Regions from separate parts of the Homo sapiens genome. Here regions 1 and 2 are each linked to region 3. Evidence: promoter capture Hi-C in 16 types of primary human blood cells and fetal thymus (Javierre and others, 2016). All regions are on one chromosome and are shown on one strand. Each heading gives the region's core, a stretch centred on a gene start or on the middle of the fragment in contact. The rest is flanking DNA. Distances are from core to core; before and after follow the strand shown. Region 1 overlaps LINC01494 (long intergenic non-protein coding RNA 1494). Region 2 overlaps WNT6 (Wnt family member 6). Region 3 holds the start of CNPPD1 (cyclin Pas1/PHO80 domain containing 1).

Region 1 (4,497 bases), core at 1,127-3,626, 270 kb before region 3:
GACTACAACTGTCTCCTAGTTGCTCCCCTTGATTCTGCCATTACACAACCCCAGTCTATTCTATACCCAGCAGCCCAAGTGATCCTTCTAAAGTGTCAGTCATGTGATGTGCCTCCTCTGCTCAAAAGTCTCTAAAGTCTTTCTATCTTACACAGGACAAGAGCCAAAGTACTAAGTACAAATTAGCCGGGCGTGGTGATGTGCACCTGTAGTCCCAGCTACTCGGGAGGCTGAGGCAGGAGAATCTCTTGAACCCGGGAGGGGGAGGTTGCAGTGAGCTGAGACTTACAGGTCACCATGACTTACAAGGCGTGATAGGATTGGCTCCCTGCTACCTCTTTCACCTCATTTTCTCCTCCAACTCTCTCTCATCCACTTTACTTTAGCCACACTGGCCTCCTGCAAATTCCTTGAGCAATCCAAACACTGTCTTGCCTCAGGGCCTTTGCACCTCCTCCCTCTGCCTGAAATCGGTTTCCTCCAGATAACCGCATGAATGTTGTCTTCCTTCATTCAGGACCTCACTGAAATATCTCCTTATGAGAGGGGCCTTGTATGGTGCCTCATGCCTGGAATCCCAGTGCTTTGAAAGACTGAGGCGGGAGGATCACTTGATCCCAGGAGTTCAAGTCTACATTGAGCTATGATCAAGCCACTGTACTCCAGCCTGATTGACAGGGCAAGACCCTGTCTCAAAAAAGAAAAAAAAACCCACACAAAATAAACATAGAAAAGAGGAGCCTTGGCAGAACATCCTGTATAACATAGCAAACTTCCTCTTACCTTTACCTTGCTTTATTTTTCTTCATAGTATAGATCACATATTTGACCATATTTGTGTATTTCTTTATGCTCTGCTTCCACACTCTATAATGGAAACTCTACGAGAACTGAGACTCTGTTGTTTTTTGCTGTATTTCTAATGCCAAGAATGGTATTAAGTACATAGTAGGAACTCAATAAATATAAGTGAATGAATGAATAAATAAATAAATGTCTACAGAAATCACTACTAACTTCTGTCTTCAGGCCCAAACTTCCTTCCTATGATCTTTCTTTTTTTTTCTTTTGAGACAGAGTCTCGCTCTGTCACCCAAGCTGGAATGCAGTGGTGTGATTTCAGCTTACTGCAACCTCTGCCTCCTGGGTTCAAGCAATTCTCCTGCCTTAGCCTCCTGAGTAGCTGGTATTACAGGTGTGCACCACCATGCCGGGCTAATTTTTGTATTTTAGTAGAGACAGGGTTTCGCCATGTTGGCCAGGCAGGTCTTGAATTCCTGACCTCAGGTGATCCACCCATCTTGGCCTCCCAAAGTGCTGGGATTACAGGTGTGAGCCACCACACCTGGTCTCCTGTGATCTTTCTTGAAGTTCCAGCTGCCAGCTAGACATGTTTTAATGTATGCCTGTGATACCACCCACTCAAGCTTTATTTTATTTTATTTTATTTTTGAGACAGAGTCCTGCTCTGTCACCCAGGCTGGAGTGCAATGGCGCCATCTCAGCTCACAGCAACCTCTGACTCCTCTGCCTCCCAGGTTCAAGCAATTCTCCTGCATCAGCCTCCTGAGTGGCTGGGATTACAGGTGGCCTGCCACCACGCCCAGCTCATTTTTTGTATTTTTAGTAGAGATGGGGTTTCACTATGTTGGCCAGGCTGGTCTTGAACTTCTGACCCCAAGTGATCCACCTACCTCAGCCTCCCAAAGTGCTGGGATTACAGGCGTGAGCCACCATGCCCGGCTCAAGCTTTATTAATGCAGATTCATTATCTTATGTATGTATTTGCTAAGGGCTGAGACTTTGTTTTGTTTACTGTTCTTTTCTCAATGCCTAGCACAGTGCTTGGCATAGACCAGGCATTTAATATTTGTTGAATAAGTGAATGAATGACTTTCCCCTCCAAACCAGTTCTCCTTAACTTGCTTGTTTCTCTTTGTCACATCATCATTTTCTTAGTCACTGAACCTCAAAACTGGTGTAAACTTGGACTCTCACCTTCTCTTCTCCTTTCTATATTCAATCAGTGGCCAAGATCTGCTTATTCTTCCACTTCATTCACATGGTCAATATCCTAGTTCACCACACACCTCAAACATCACAACGACCTTCCAACTAGCCTCTGTCATTCCTCTTTCTTCCTCTTCAATCCATCCCTATCCTATTGTTCTGTTTTTCTCTCCCACGAAGTGCTCTGATCATGTCATTTCCTCTGACTAAAGCTCTCAATGGATCTTTGTACCAATTTGGGTTCTTAATTGCAAACAACAGAAACAGACTCTGGTTCACTTAGTAGAAGAGGAATTTACTGGGATGACATCAGGGAACTCAAAGAATTGACAGGAAGCCTCAAGAATCAGGCTCAGGAAGCAAGCAGGAGCCAAGAGAAGCTAGGCAGCTAGAACTTTAGCTAAATCCTGTCCCAAGTGCAGCCTGATTAAGGGGCTTGGGGGCTGCTTCCCACATGGCTACCACCACCCTGAGCACTTGCTGCTGCCACCTCTGGGATGAATTATAAACAGTCCTCTTCCTCCTTGGGTCACTTGTTGAAGATTTAGAGTCCTGACTGGGAGCATTGATTTGGCTGTGATCTTCCTGCTAGGGGCCAGGTGAGCAAGTATCTGACTTCTCACTAAGACTCACATTAGGGAGGCTCCACCAACATATGAAGGGGGCTCAGATGCTGGGCAGCTAAAGACTCCAGTGTGTATCCATATGCAGGTTCCTGAGCATTGAAGCCCTCCACCATATGCCACAAACGATCATCTCCAGTTTTTTCTCACTTCCACACCATGTTCCACTGAAGCATGACTGTGTGCAGTTCCCTGAGCAGTCCTTTCCTGCCTCAGCCCCTGTAATAGCTGGGCCCCAAAGGTGGTCCGCCTTGAATCATGCTTCACACCTGTGTATTGTCCCCTCCCCTTGAAAGGGCCAGTCCATGCTTCCTTTTCACTGAGTGTGCTGTGGAAGCGAAGCTGCATGACTGCTGAAGAGAGGGAATAGGAAGCTTTGCAGTTTTTGCCTCAGTCGCTCGGAATGTTCACTCTGGGGCAAGCCAATCACCGTGTATGAGGTCTGTCTACCCAGAGACTACCATGCTATGAGGAACCCGAAACAAGCCACATGGGAAGGCTGTATAGAGAGAGTAATGCCTGGGCAGGCCCCTTCAGTTCCAGCCAATTCAGATGAGGTGCCAGACATGTGACTTTAAAAAGTCATCTTGGGGCTGGGCTCAGTGGTTCACACCTGTAATCTCAGCACTTTGGGAGGCCGAGGCAGGCGGATAACTTGAGGCCAGGAGTTCAAGACCATCCTGGCCAACATGGCGAAACCCCATCTCTACTAAAAATACAAAAAATTAGCCAGACATAGTGGCACATGCCTGTAGTCCCAGCTTCTCGGGAGGCTGAGGCATGAGAATCACTTGAACCTGGGAGGTGGAGGTTGCAGTGAGTGAGATTGCGCCACTACAGTCCAGCCTGGGTGACGAAGTGAGGCTGTGTCTTCAAAAATAAATAAATAAATAAATAAATTTTTAAAAAGTCATCTTGGATATCCAGCCGAGTTGAGCCTTCAGATGACTCCAGCCTTAGCCACCATCTAACTGAACTGCTTGAGAGACCCCACGTGAGAACTGCCCAGCTGACTGTAGTCAACCCACAGGACTGTGGGATGTAAATGGTTATTTTTAAGCCACTGAATTTTGGAGCGGTTTGTTACTCAGTAATAGAAAATGGAAACAGCCCCTCTGTGGTCCATGTTTCCCTCTCTCTGGAATGTACCCCAACTGTCCTGCCTTAGCTCCATGTCCACTCATATCTGCTCTTGTCAAAATCCTTCCAGTGAGCATGGCACAGTGCAGAGGAAAGAGCCAGGCTTTGGGGTCAGCCTGTGCGGCGGGAGGGATTGAATCCTAGTTTAGTCTCTCACTATCCCTGTGACCTAAGGCAAAGTCATTAAGTTCTCTGGACCTCAGTTTCTGTATCTGCTATATTGAAATAAAAACACTCATCTGCTGAAGTTGTTTTGAGGACTAGATGTAATATATGTAAAGTACCTAGACGTCTCACCCATTTTAGTCTCACTGAATGGTGGCCTTTAGCAGACACTTAGCCTTCTAGCCTGGCATCAAATGGCACTTCTGAGGTCTAATTCTCATCACTTATAAATTATATGGTTTTGGAAAATTCCTTAAATTTCTCTGAGCCTTACTCTCCTCATATGTAACATACCTAGACCCTTAAGCCATGTCCCTTAACCGGCATGGCATCAGAAATCCTTGGAAGAGGAAGTAAACCATGGCCACAGTTGGGGTTCCCCAGTGTCTGGTGGGCTGGGGGTCTGTAGTGGATGGCAGACTGCAGGGGAGGAACAACAGAGGCCGGAGAGCTCATCACCCTGAGTGAGAAAAAGGTTTCACTGGACAGGGAAGGGGTCCGCCGAACAGGGCAGAGGGAGGAGTGCTATTTGGAATGTTGTGAGGCTGGGCATGACCAC
Region 2 (4,603 bases), core at 1,447-3,946, 300 kb before region 3:
TCACCCCTGCTGTCCATTCTGCTTTCTCCCCCACCCCCTGCCTTTGGACCCTGGAATCTCTGCGCTGCATATTGTCCCCGTCTCCCCTCTTCGTCATCATCATATTCCTCCATCCTCACCATTCCTCCTGCTCCTCCCCTCCGAGTTGTCCTTTCCTTGATTTCCTCCCCCTGAACTTGCGGTCTCCTTTTGTCTGCATTTTCCTCTCTTCCTTTCACCTCCCATTCCCAATCTTATTTTCTGTCCATCCGCTGGGCCCTTCCCTGCACCCCCTACCTGTCCACATGCGTCCGCCCCTCTGCCTCCCGCAGGCCGTGCGGAGCCACACGCGCACCGAGTGCAAATGCCACGGGCTGTCGGGATCATGCGCGCTGCGCACCTGCTGGCAGAAGCTGCCTCCATTTCGCGAGGTGGGCGCGCGGCTGCTGGAGCGCTTCCACGGCGCCTCACGCGTCATGGGCACCAACGACGGCAAGGCCCTGCTGCCCGCCGTCCGCACGCTCAAGCCGCCGGGCCGAGCGGACCTCCTCTACGCCGCCGATTCGCCCGACTTCTGCGCCCCCAACCGACGCACCGGCTCCCCCGGCACGCGCGGTCGCGCCTGCAATAGCAGCGCCCCGGACCTCAGCGGCTGCGACCTGCTGTGCTGCGGCCGCGGGCACCGCCAGGAGAGCGTGCAGCTCGAAGAGAACTGCCTGTGCCGCTTCCACTGGTGCTGCGTAGTACAGTGCCACCGCTGCCGTGTGCGCAAGGAGCTCAGCCTCTGCCTGTGACCCGCCGCCCGGCCGCTAGACTGACTTCGCGCAGCGGTGGCTCGCACCTGTGGGACCTCAGGGCACCGGCACCGGGCGCCTCTCGCCGCTCGAGCCCAGCCTCTCCCTGCCAAAGCCCAACTCCCAGGGCTCTGGAAATGGTGAGGCGAGGGGCTTGAGAGGAACGCCCACCCACGAAGGCCCAGGGCGCCAGACGGCCCCGAAAAGGCGCTCGGGGAGCGTTTAAAGGACACTGTACAGGCCCTCCCTCCCCTTGGCCTCTAGGAGGAAACAGTTTTTTAGACTGGAAAAAAGCCAGTCTAAAGGCCTCTGGATACTGGGCTCCCCAGAACTGCTGGCCACAGGATGGTGGGTGAGGTTAGTATCAATAAAGATATTTAAACCACCAGGGCTGGACCCACAGTTTTGGGGGAGACTGATCTTCAGGCTGCCAGGCTCCAGAAGAAGGTGGTTTTGCTAGAACTAGCACCTCAGGGGCTATCACCTGGGTCCCTATCTCCCGACCAGGTTGGCCTCTCCTGGAAACTCGCTATCTCCCCTTGGCATTCTTCTTGTTCACTCCTGTCACACATCTAGGTCCTGGATCTGCAAGCTGGAGAAGAACTAGCAATTCCTCTTTAAAGGGACAGGGGCATCAGAAGCTTCTGATGCATACCTCTTGACACCCAACAATATTTCCTTCCTTCTGGTTCCTCTTGGGAAGCTACTGGTGAAAGTGAGGAGACAGAGGGCAGTTCTGGATTCTCCAGAGCTGAAGCTTGAGCTCTCATCTTCCTCCAGAGAGAAAGAGGGATGGCATAGCCCAACTTCCAGGACCCAGAGCCTCCAACTTTCCTCCAGTCCAAATACTGCAATGGGGAATGACTCCCCCATCAAGGTATGGAGGACAAAAAATGAGCTTTGGGGTCAGACACTCTGGGTTTGCAGTTGGTGCTGCTGCTTAGAACTTTACAACAGAGGCCAAATTAGCCTCATTTTCTTTATACAAAGGGATTTCGCTCTGTTTCAGTTATCCATTGCTACATAACAAACAACCCCAAAGTAATCACTTCTCAGGATTTTTGAGGTCATGATTGGTCAGAACTCAGCTTGGTAGGTCTGCTCTATATAGCAGAACCATTGGCTTGGGTTCACATGGCTGCATTCTGCTGGAGTCTCCACTGTGCTGTGCTGGACAGTCCAAGAAGCCCCCACTCACATGTCTAGGGCACAGAGCTTCTCTTGTGCTCTCATTCTCTCCATGTGGCTAACCTGGGCTTCCTCGCTGCATGTTAGCCTTAGGATAGTCAGACTTCTTACATAAGACTGACTTTCTTTTTTTTTTTTTTTTTTTTTTTTTTTTTTTTTTTTTTTTTTTTTTTGAGATGGAGTCTCGCTCTGTTGCCCAGGCTGGAGTGCAGTGACGTGATCTCAGCTCACTGCAAGTTCTGCCTCCTGGGTTCATGCCATTCTCCTGCCTCAGCCTCCCAAGTAGCTGGGACTACAGGCGCCCACCACCACACTTGGATACGTTTTTTTGTATTTTTAGTAGAGATGGGGTTTCACCGTGTTAGCCAAGACGGTCTTGATCTCCTGACCTCGTGATCCGCCTGCCTTGGCCTCCCAAAGTGCTGGGATTACAGGCGTGAGCCACCGCGCCCGGCCAAAACTGACTTTCAAAGGAAAGTGTACCAAACTTGAAGGCAGAAGCTGTAAGTATCTTCTCAAGTCCAGCTTTGGAAGTTACATAGCATCACTGTAACTGTGTATTGGTCAAAACAGTTCACAGAGCCAGGCAAAATTCAAAGGGAGGGAAAATTAATTCCACCTCTCAATGGGAGGAGTGGCAAATAATTTGCAGCCATCATAATCTGTCCCACACCCTCACAGGATTGTTGGGAGAATTTTTTTTTGAGATATGAAAGCCTTTAGCATAGCTTGTGACACATAATTTGTCAAACATATGTTTAGTAAATGATAGTTACTGTGAGAATGGGGACAGACATATGATGCTTTGCAGATATTGGGCAGGCCCTGATTGCAAATGAAGATACCTGACTTTTAGCTGAGGCCAAACAGAAATAATGAATGGCTTTTATACCAGGGAAGTCCAGAGGTTAGTCTGAATTCAGGTACAGCTGAACCCAGGGGCTCACGTGGTGTCACAGGCTTCTTTCTCATCTCCTTCCCTCTCCCTCGCCTCTGCATCTATTGTTTCTGCTTATCTCTGCCTCTCTTGGCATACTGTCCTCATTATCTCCTCCTGCAGACTTTCTCCATGACAGCTCTATATGCAGTCTTAGATCCAAAAGCAGAAGAATGACTTTCCCAGTTGTCTCCAACAGAAGTCCCAAGGAAGACCTTGCTTAGTTCAGCTTGGTCATTTGCCTATTCCTGAACCAATAATGGTGTCTAGGGAGATGTACTACCATGCCTGGGATTGACAGCCTCTCTAGAACCACAGGGGGGTGGGGCAGGCACAGGGAGCAAAGCACAGTCCTTCAAATGAAACAGAAGGAAAGGGAGCTCGTTCTGGATGTGACAGACCCTCACCGTGGCTTCCAGGACCCCTGTCCTTCCCCCGCAATGCCCCTGCATTCACTCGGTGACCTAGCCTGCTTCAATCCTCAAGGCTCATGGTGGGGAGGGGTGTCAGGCTGCAGTGGGAAGGTTGAGGCACCAGGGTTTTCCTTTCTGCCTCCTCTTGGCTCCCTTGGGTCAAATGTCTGGGCCTCAGGGAAGTCATGGAGAATTTGGACTTAGAACTCCTTGACCAAAGGAAACTCTGTTAACTTACCAAAGGAGACAGTGGAAATACATTATGGTCCACATAGAGGAGAAATGAAGCTCCCTGAGGGCAAGGTTTATATTCACAGATCTGCCTTCCCCAAAGCTCTGCTCTTATCTTCAAACAAACAAAAAAACCAAACAAGCCCAAAACCCAAACTCCTGCACTTCTCTCAGAGACCACCAGAGGGCATGCGGAGCCCAGCTTCTCTATTAACAGGGAGCGACAGACAGGACCTGCAGGACATCTGGGAAACTCAGAGAGTGGTGGGCAGGAGAGGATAGGACTGAAAGGAAGCAAGGAGACCTACAGACAGCTTGGGTCAAGCTTCTAGGGTTCCAGACTGTCTGGGACGTCTGGGCTGGCCCAGACCTAGGGCTGGGATGCCAGCCTCCCAGACTCTACCACTGCTGGGTCCTGCAGGGGGTGAGATAGGGTGGAAGATGCTGGACATCTTCCTCCACAATGCCAGGGAGGGAAGCTGGGGAAGTGGCATGAACTGGCACCATTCTAGGCAGGTTAAAAGGAATTCAGAGGAAGTTGTATGGTACAATGAAAAATGCCTTGTTTGCTAGCTTGACCTTGGTCAAGTCAGTTAACCTATCTGAGCACTTCCTATCACCTAATAGGGGTCCCTGATTGCTTTTTAGCACATTGTGAGAATGCACTTCCATCTTTAAACTGCTGGCCACATGTTACTGGTCCATCTTCTGTTACCAAGCCCTGAAGGCGTCTGGGCACTGCCTTCTATGAAGGGTGGGAGTGATTACCAGAAGGCACCATTGGGACTTCTAGCCTTATCTTCTTTGAGCCCAGAGATAGATCTGTGCTGTTGCCCTGCTGCCTGGGAAGGGGCCGGAAGTAGAGTTCCCACCACCACCCACCCCTGCTCATCCAGCTGCTCAGCCTCAGGCAGTCTGAGCCATCAAAGTCCCCTGCTGGCTGAATGGCAGGGGACATGTGGAACTGGGGAGATGGGGGAAGTGCAAAGAGGCACCCCAGATGTGTGTGTGACCACATCAGGAACAGGCGGAACACAGGCAGATGGGTGAGGAGGCCGAGT
Region 3 (4,662 bases), core at 187-2,686:
TGTCTCAAAAAAAAAAAAAAGAAAGAAAGAAAAGAAAGAAAAGACGATTCCCCTTTCTCTAGGGCCCAAACACTCTCATCCTATCCTCATTTCCAGGCTCACCGGGACACATGAGCTACATATTTCTTCTGGAGTCGGCGAATAGGGCTGGGGGCTGCCTTCTGGAGCAGTTCGACAGCAATGTCTGCAAGGGACAGAAGGAAGGCCGAGTGAGCAAACAAGCACCCACACCCAACACACCAGTCCCCACTGCTAGCAGAAGACCCAGATCTGTATTTTCTGAGGCCTTGGGGACAGGACCATAGTAACAAAATAGAGATCAAATTCTCACACACTGAGACAAAAAGCCCATTCCAAGTTCGAATTTCAGCTCATTCTAACAGGAAAGCTTATTGCCCTGTCACATCAAACTATCCAGATTTATCTGTCACTGCTGTTCATCTGTGGCATAAACATGCCTTGTTTACTTGGGGAACATATGATGGATATCCTTCGAAAATTAGCTTTTCAATATATAAATCAAGAGTGATTTGTATAGATATATGTGGCAGCAATGTTTTTTATTCATTTGGGCTAAAAGAATGGGAAATGCAAACTGCCCTCTTGAACCAAGTACCAACGAGCTAGCAATGAAGAGACAGTGTAGCCACGGGGCAAACCTCGAGCCATTTTCTGCCTGATGACAATCCCATTTTCATGCTTCTCACTTGTCCAGTCACACAACACTGCCTAACCTGCCACCGGGCTGGAGAGCTCCTCCAGGCTACAGTCGGCTTCCCAGTCCCAGCCATAGTAGAGCCTCCTTCGGATCCGGGCACTCAGCTTCTGGTGTCCTGGGAGGAACTGAAACAGGGCAGGGGCAGCGGAGGGTGAAGGGCACGGAAAGGTATGATGCAGATCCTGGCTCTGGGCTGGAAGGCGGGGCAGGGGACAGGCCGGCCTCGCTGCTAGGGGGCCCGTGCCTTACCCAGACCCGCGTTCTGTAAATCGCTTGCCAATGGCAGCCTGGTCCATAGAGGGAGGAATGCCCCCACCCCCATCGAGGGTTCCCCGGGAGAAGTTCTCCGAGAAGGGCCCTCGTGTGGCCACCCCTACGCCCATTCCTATACTCCGCGGCTCTCCCTCCCGGCCCAAGCAGCCGCGGCCTCAAGGAAGCACTGCTCGAGCAGCTGCCGCCCAGTCCCGGCACAGCAGTCAGGCGAGCTCGCAGCGCCGCTCAGGCCGGGAGGGGCGCGCCGGGAGGCCGGGGAGGGGGCGGGACCCCCACTCACCGTGAAGTCCTGGAAGCCGGCGAGGGAGAAGGTGCCTTCTTCGTCCAGCAGGAGCCCGGTCAGGTCCATCGCGCCGCCAGTCGCCGCCCTGCGAAGGTGAACGGAAGGAAACGAGTTGTAGGGGGCTCGCGGAGCTGTCCTTGCCCGCCTGTCCACCTGCCAGCCTGCCTCCCCGGGGCGGGCCGCCGTCCTCGCCCTCGCCCTCGCAGCTCCCTCCCCCCGGCGGCGGAAGGCGGGGCCCGGGCTGAACTGGGCGCCTCTTCCTGTTCCGCCCCGGGCTTGGCGCGGCGCGCGGGGGCCCTAGGCCCGGGAAGGGAGGTGTCAAGCGTCCGTGCGACGCTCACCTCGCGGAGCAGAAAGGAGATGCGGCTGCGAGGCGCGTACTCCGCCTGTGCCGCGTCCGCCCGGCGTTTACAAGCCGCGGGGGTGCCGCCTGCAAGTCAGCGCCTGGCACTTCCTGCCGCCCATCTGGCCCAGCCTCCCGCCCCGACCCGCGGGCAGGAACCGGACTCGAACTCCTGGTCTCACGGAACGTGGCCAAGCCCCAGGCGCCTCTGAGAAATGGGGACAATTCGTAGGGGGGACCACGCCGCACTGAGGATGAACAAGCCAGGCGTAGCAATGGAGAAGTTAATGTGAATAAGACGAAACGCACAACAGGAAGTTGTTCCCAGTTGCTTTTTAGGAGAGATATTATACATACTCAGCAATGCATATGAAAAGCGTCTGAAAGGACACACAGGAAATTTAGCAGTGGGTGAACTATGAAAAGGAAGAGAAACTCAGGGTGTTTTTTTTTTTTACTGTAATTTGAACTTTTAAACCTAAGGCTACTGAGGAAATTCTGTGATCTTAAGCGAATGTAAGGCCTCAAAACGTGTCAACACGTCCACCCAAAAGTAAACTGCATCTACCCAAGGTTTTGTGTTGAAACCCACCTCCCGCCTCCGATCTCATGCTTGAGTAGGCCGAGGTGGGAAGAAGCTCCGATATGTGGAAGTGGGAAAGTTTAAGGAGATAGGAAAGAAACAACTTTTCTGAGTAGATGTTGTTTTCGAGTCTGTCGAGTCAAGCGCTGGTGTGTGTTTGTTTACCCACTGAGGGGAGGGAACTGGGAGGACCAGTGCGTTGAGGGTTGGTTGAGTAATGGGACGGCCACCGCCCTTCCCGAGCGAGCAGAAGCAGACCCTACCGGGGATACTGGGAATCTGGAAGCCCACTTCCTGCCCCACACGGGGATACCGGGGCAGCACCACACTCCCTAGCCGCCCTGCCTACTGTGGGATAAGAAAACGGGCTCGACTGCCTGGACCTAGACCCGGACTCGGAACCCGGGGTACTTCGTCAACCAGAAAACGAACCTGTGTAGGCGCAGTGTCAGCGGCAGCCGCCGGGGCGCATGCGCGGCCCGCCCTATCCGGGGGGGGGGGGGTTAGGCCGCGTCACGTGACGGGCTCAGCGCTCCGCAGTCACGTGACGCTCGTCCGCAACCTCTGCTGTCCTCCGCGGCGCCCCCTTCCGCCTGACGCGCCCCCGGCGGCGGCCGCGCAGCCCTGGCTCCTCGCGGGCTCGGGCGGCGGCTGCGGCGGGGCTATGGCGAGCGGCGGTGGCGGGGGTAACACTGGCGCGGGTGGGGGGCCGGGGATGGGCCTGAGCCTGGGCCTGGGTCTGGGTCTGAGCCTAGGCATGAGTGAGGCCACCAGTGAGGCAGAGGAGGAGGCGGCCACGGCCGAGGCGGTGGGACGCCTGGCCACGACGCTGTGGCTGCGGCTCCGCGGCTGGGAGGCGGTGCTGGCGGCGGCGCAGCGGTTGCTGGTGTGGGAGAAGCCGCTGCACAGCCTGGTCACGGCGGCCGCGCTCAACGGCCTCTTCTGGTAACGGCCGCGGAGGAGGGGGCGGGGCCGGGATGAGCGGGGGAGGGAGGGGTCGAGAGCACCATTCCCCTTTCTGGGTTATCACTTGGCCTGGGGGCATGACCCATCCCCAGTTTTTGCAGGCTGACATCCGCTTGAATTGCCCATTTTTTTCTATCTCTGAGTCGTGAGTCGCGAGTTAGGCCTGGAGGTGCCATTACCCCATCAGTAGGCGCCTTTCCACCTTCTGAGATGGATGCATGAGCCTGTCTCACCCACTCACTGCTGAGGTGCCTGTCTCTCCCTAAGGTTGCTGTCTTCCTCGTCCCTCCGGCCCTTCTTCCTACTCAGCGTCTCACTTTTGGCCTATTTTCTGCTGGATCTCTGGCAGCCTCGCTTTCTCCCTGACGTTTCAGGTGAGTGTTTCTTCATTCAGTAAGCACCCATTGGGTACTTGCTTGGTGCCTGATTCCGCTGGGTGGGGTTAAGTGGCGAGGGGAACGTACAGCAGGCCACCTGCCTCCCAGGCATGGCCCACTTCCTTTTTGTACGGAATTCCCTAAAATGAGAATTGCCCCTTTCCCAAACTAATACTACTGTAGGTGCAGTGGTTAAGATGGTGAAGTCTGCAGCCATATTACCTGGGTTCCATTCTCTGTTCTGCCATTTACCATTGCTGTGACCTTGTAAAAGTAGCTCAATTTCTGTTTGTCTCAATTTCCTTATCTGTAAAACACAGATGATAGAACTTACTTCATAGAGAGGTGAGGAGAGGATTAATGAGTTAATACACATGCTATACTTATGATAGTGTTTCACATATAAGCCTTATAAATAGAACGTCAGTGTTGTTTTTCTTGTTATCCATATAATTTACTTAGTAGGTGACAGGCTGTATGTGAGTTGCTTGGGAGATAAGCATGAGTAAAATCTAGTTCTTATGTTGGAGAAGGGTAATGTCTAAAGGAGACAGACGCAAACAAAAACATGTAACAGCTCCCCCATTGGCATCTGAAGAAGGTGCTCTGGGGCTGCAGAGGAGGGACAACTATTTCTGCCTTGGGGAGTGTCTCCCAGGGCCCCTACCACTCAATAATTTGCCCCCCTCCTCTCTCTCTAGCATCATCCCCAGAGGAGCCACACTCTGACAGGTGAGTACAGGCCACCTCTTGAAGACAAATGCCCACATCCTGTCCTGCTTGCTGGTGCCAGTGTCACCATGGAGCAGGGCAGTGCCCCAGCATTGTGAATGAACTGGTAACAAGCCATGGGTTTTTCATGGTCCTAGGCTCCTGTGTAGGTGTTTGCGTGCCTGCTCCTTTTGGGGCAGAGGGTTGGGTCCTCCTGGCTTTGCTTCTAAGACCAGGACAGCCTCCTTTTGAGAGGTGGGGTCATTTGCTTTTTTAGACTAAAGATATCTTTGGCATTCTCAGAGGGATTTAAGTGTCTAGGAAGCTGGTATCTGAGGCCTCCAGGGGTCATGTCATGTCTCCCCAGTGAGGGTGCGGGGTCAGGCGCCCGGCCGCACCTGCTGAGTG

What was found. Contacts are between HindIII fragments. The CHiCAGO score rates a contact against its expected background, and 5 or more counts as called.
Region 1: a fragment that was not itself captured here is called in contact with the fragment with the promoter of CNPPD1 in region 3 in 4 of 17 cell types (naive B cells, total B cells, naive CD8 T cells and 1 more); the score reaches 7.0 in naive B cells.
Region 2: a fragment that was not itself captured here is called in contact with the fragment with the promoter of CNPPD1 in region 3 in 10 of 17 cell types (naive B cells, total B cells, naive CD4 T cells and 7 more); the score reaches 9.6 in naive B cells.

Annotation. Positions count from the first base shown.
Region 1 is chr2:218,902,171-218,906,667 of GRCh38, forward strand. The region is part of intron 4 of LINC01494 (long intergenic non-protein coding RNA 1494); the gene reads right to left. Among named protein-coding and RNA genes, the nearest start is that of WNT10A, 24 kb to the left of the region's middle. The HindIII fragment of the contact is 1,258 bases long and covers 1,748-3,005 here.
Region 2 is chr2:218,873,073-218,877,675 of GRCh38, forward strand. WNT6 (Wnt family member 6) reads left to right here. Exons shown (of 4, transcript NM_006522.4): 4 at 312-1,161. The coding sequence ends at 773. It also overlaps a transcript of WNT10A not described here. Among named protein-coding and RNA genes, the nearest start is that of WNT10A, 5.5 kb to the right of the region's middle. The HindIII fragment of the contact is 2,337 bases long and covers 1,529-3,865 here.
Region 3 is chr2:219,175,489-219,180,150 of GRCh38, forward strand. CNPPD1 (cyclin Pas1/PHO80 domain containing 1) reads right to left here and starts at 1,437. Exons shown (of 8, transcript NM_015680.6): 1 at 1,272-1,437; 2 at 735-843; 3 at 103-184. The coding sequence starts at 1,340. RETREG2 (reticulophagy regulator family member 2) reads left to right here and starts at 2,787. Exons shown (of 9, transcript NM_024293.6): 1 at 2,787-3,145; 2 at 3,434-3,540; 3 at 4,245-4,275; 4 at 4,622-4,662. The coding sequence starts at 2,865. RefSeq lists silencers at 1,059-1,353, 1,192-1,251, 1,372-1,581, 1,652-1,701, 2,692-2,771 and 2 more and an enhancer at 2,482-2,982. The HindIII fragment of the contact is 4,554 bases long and covers 387-4,662 here.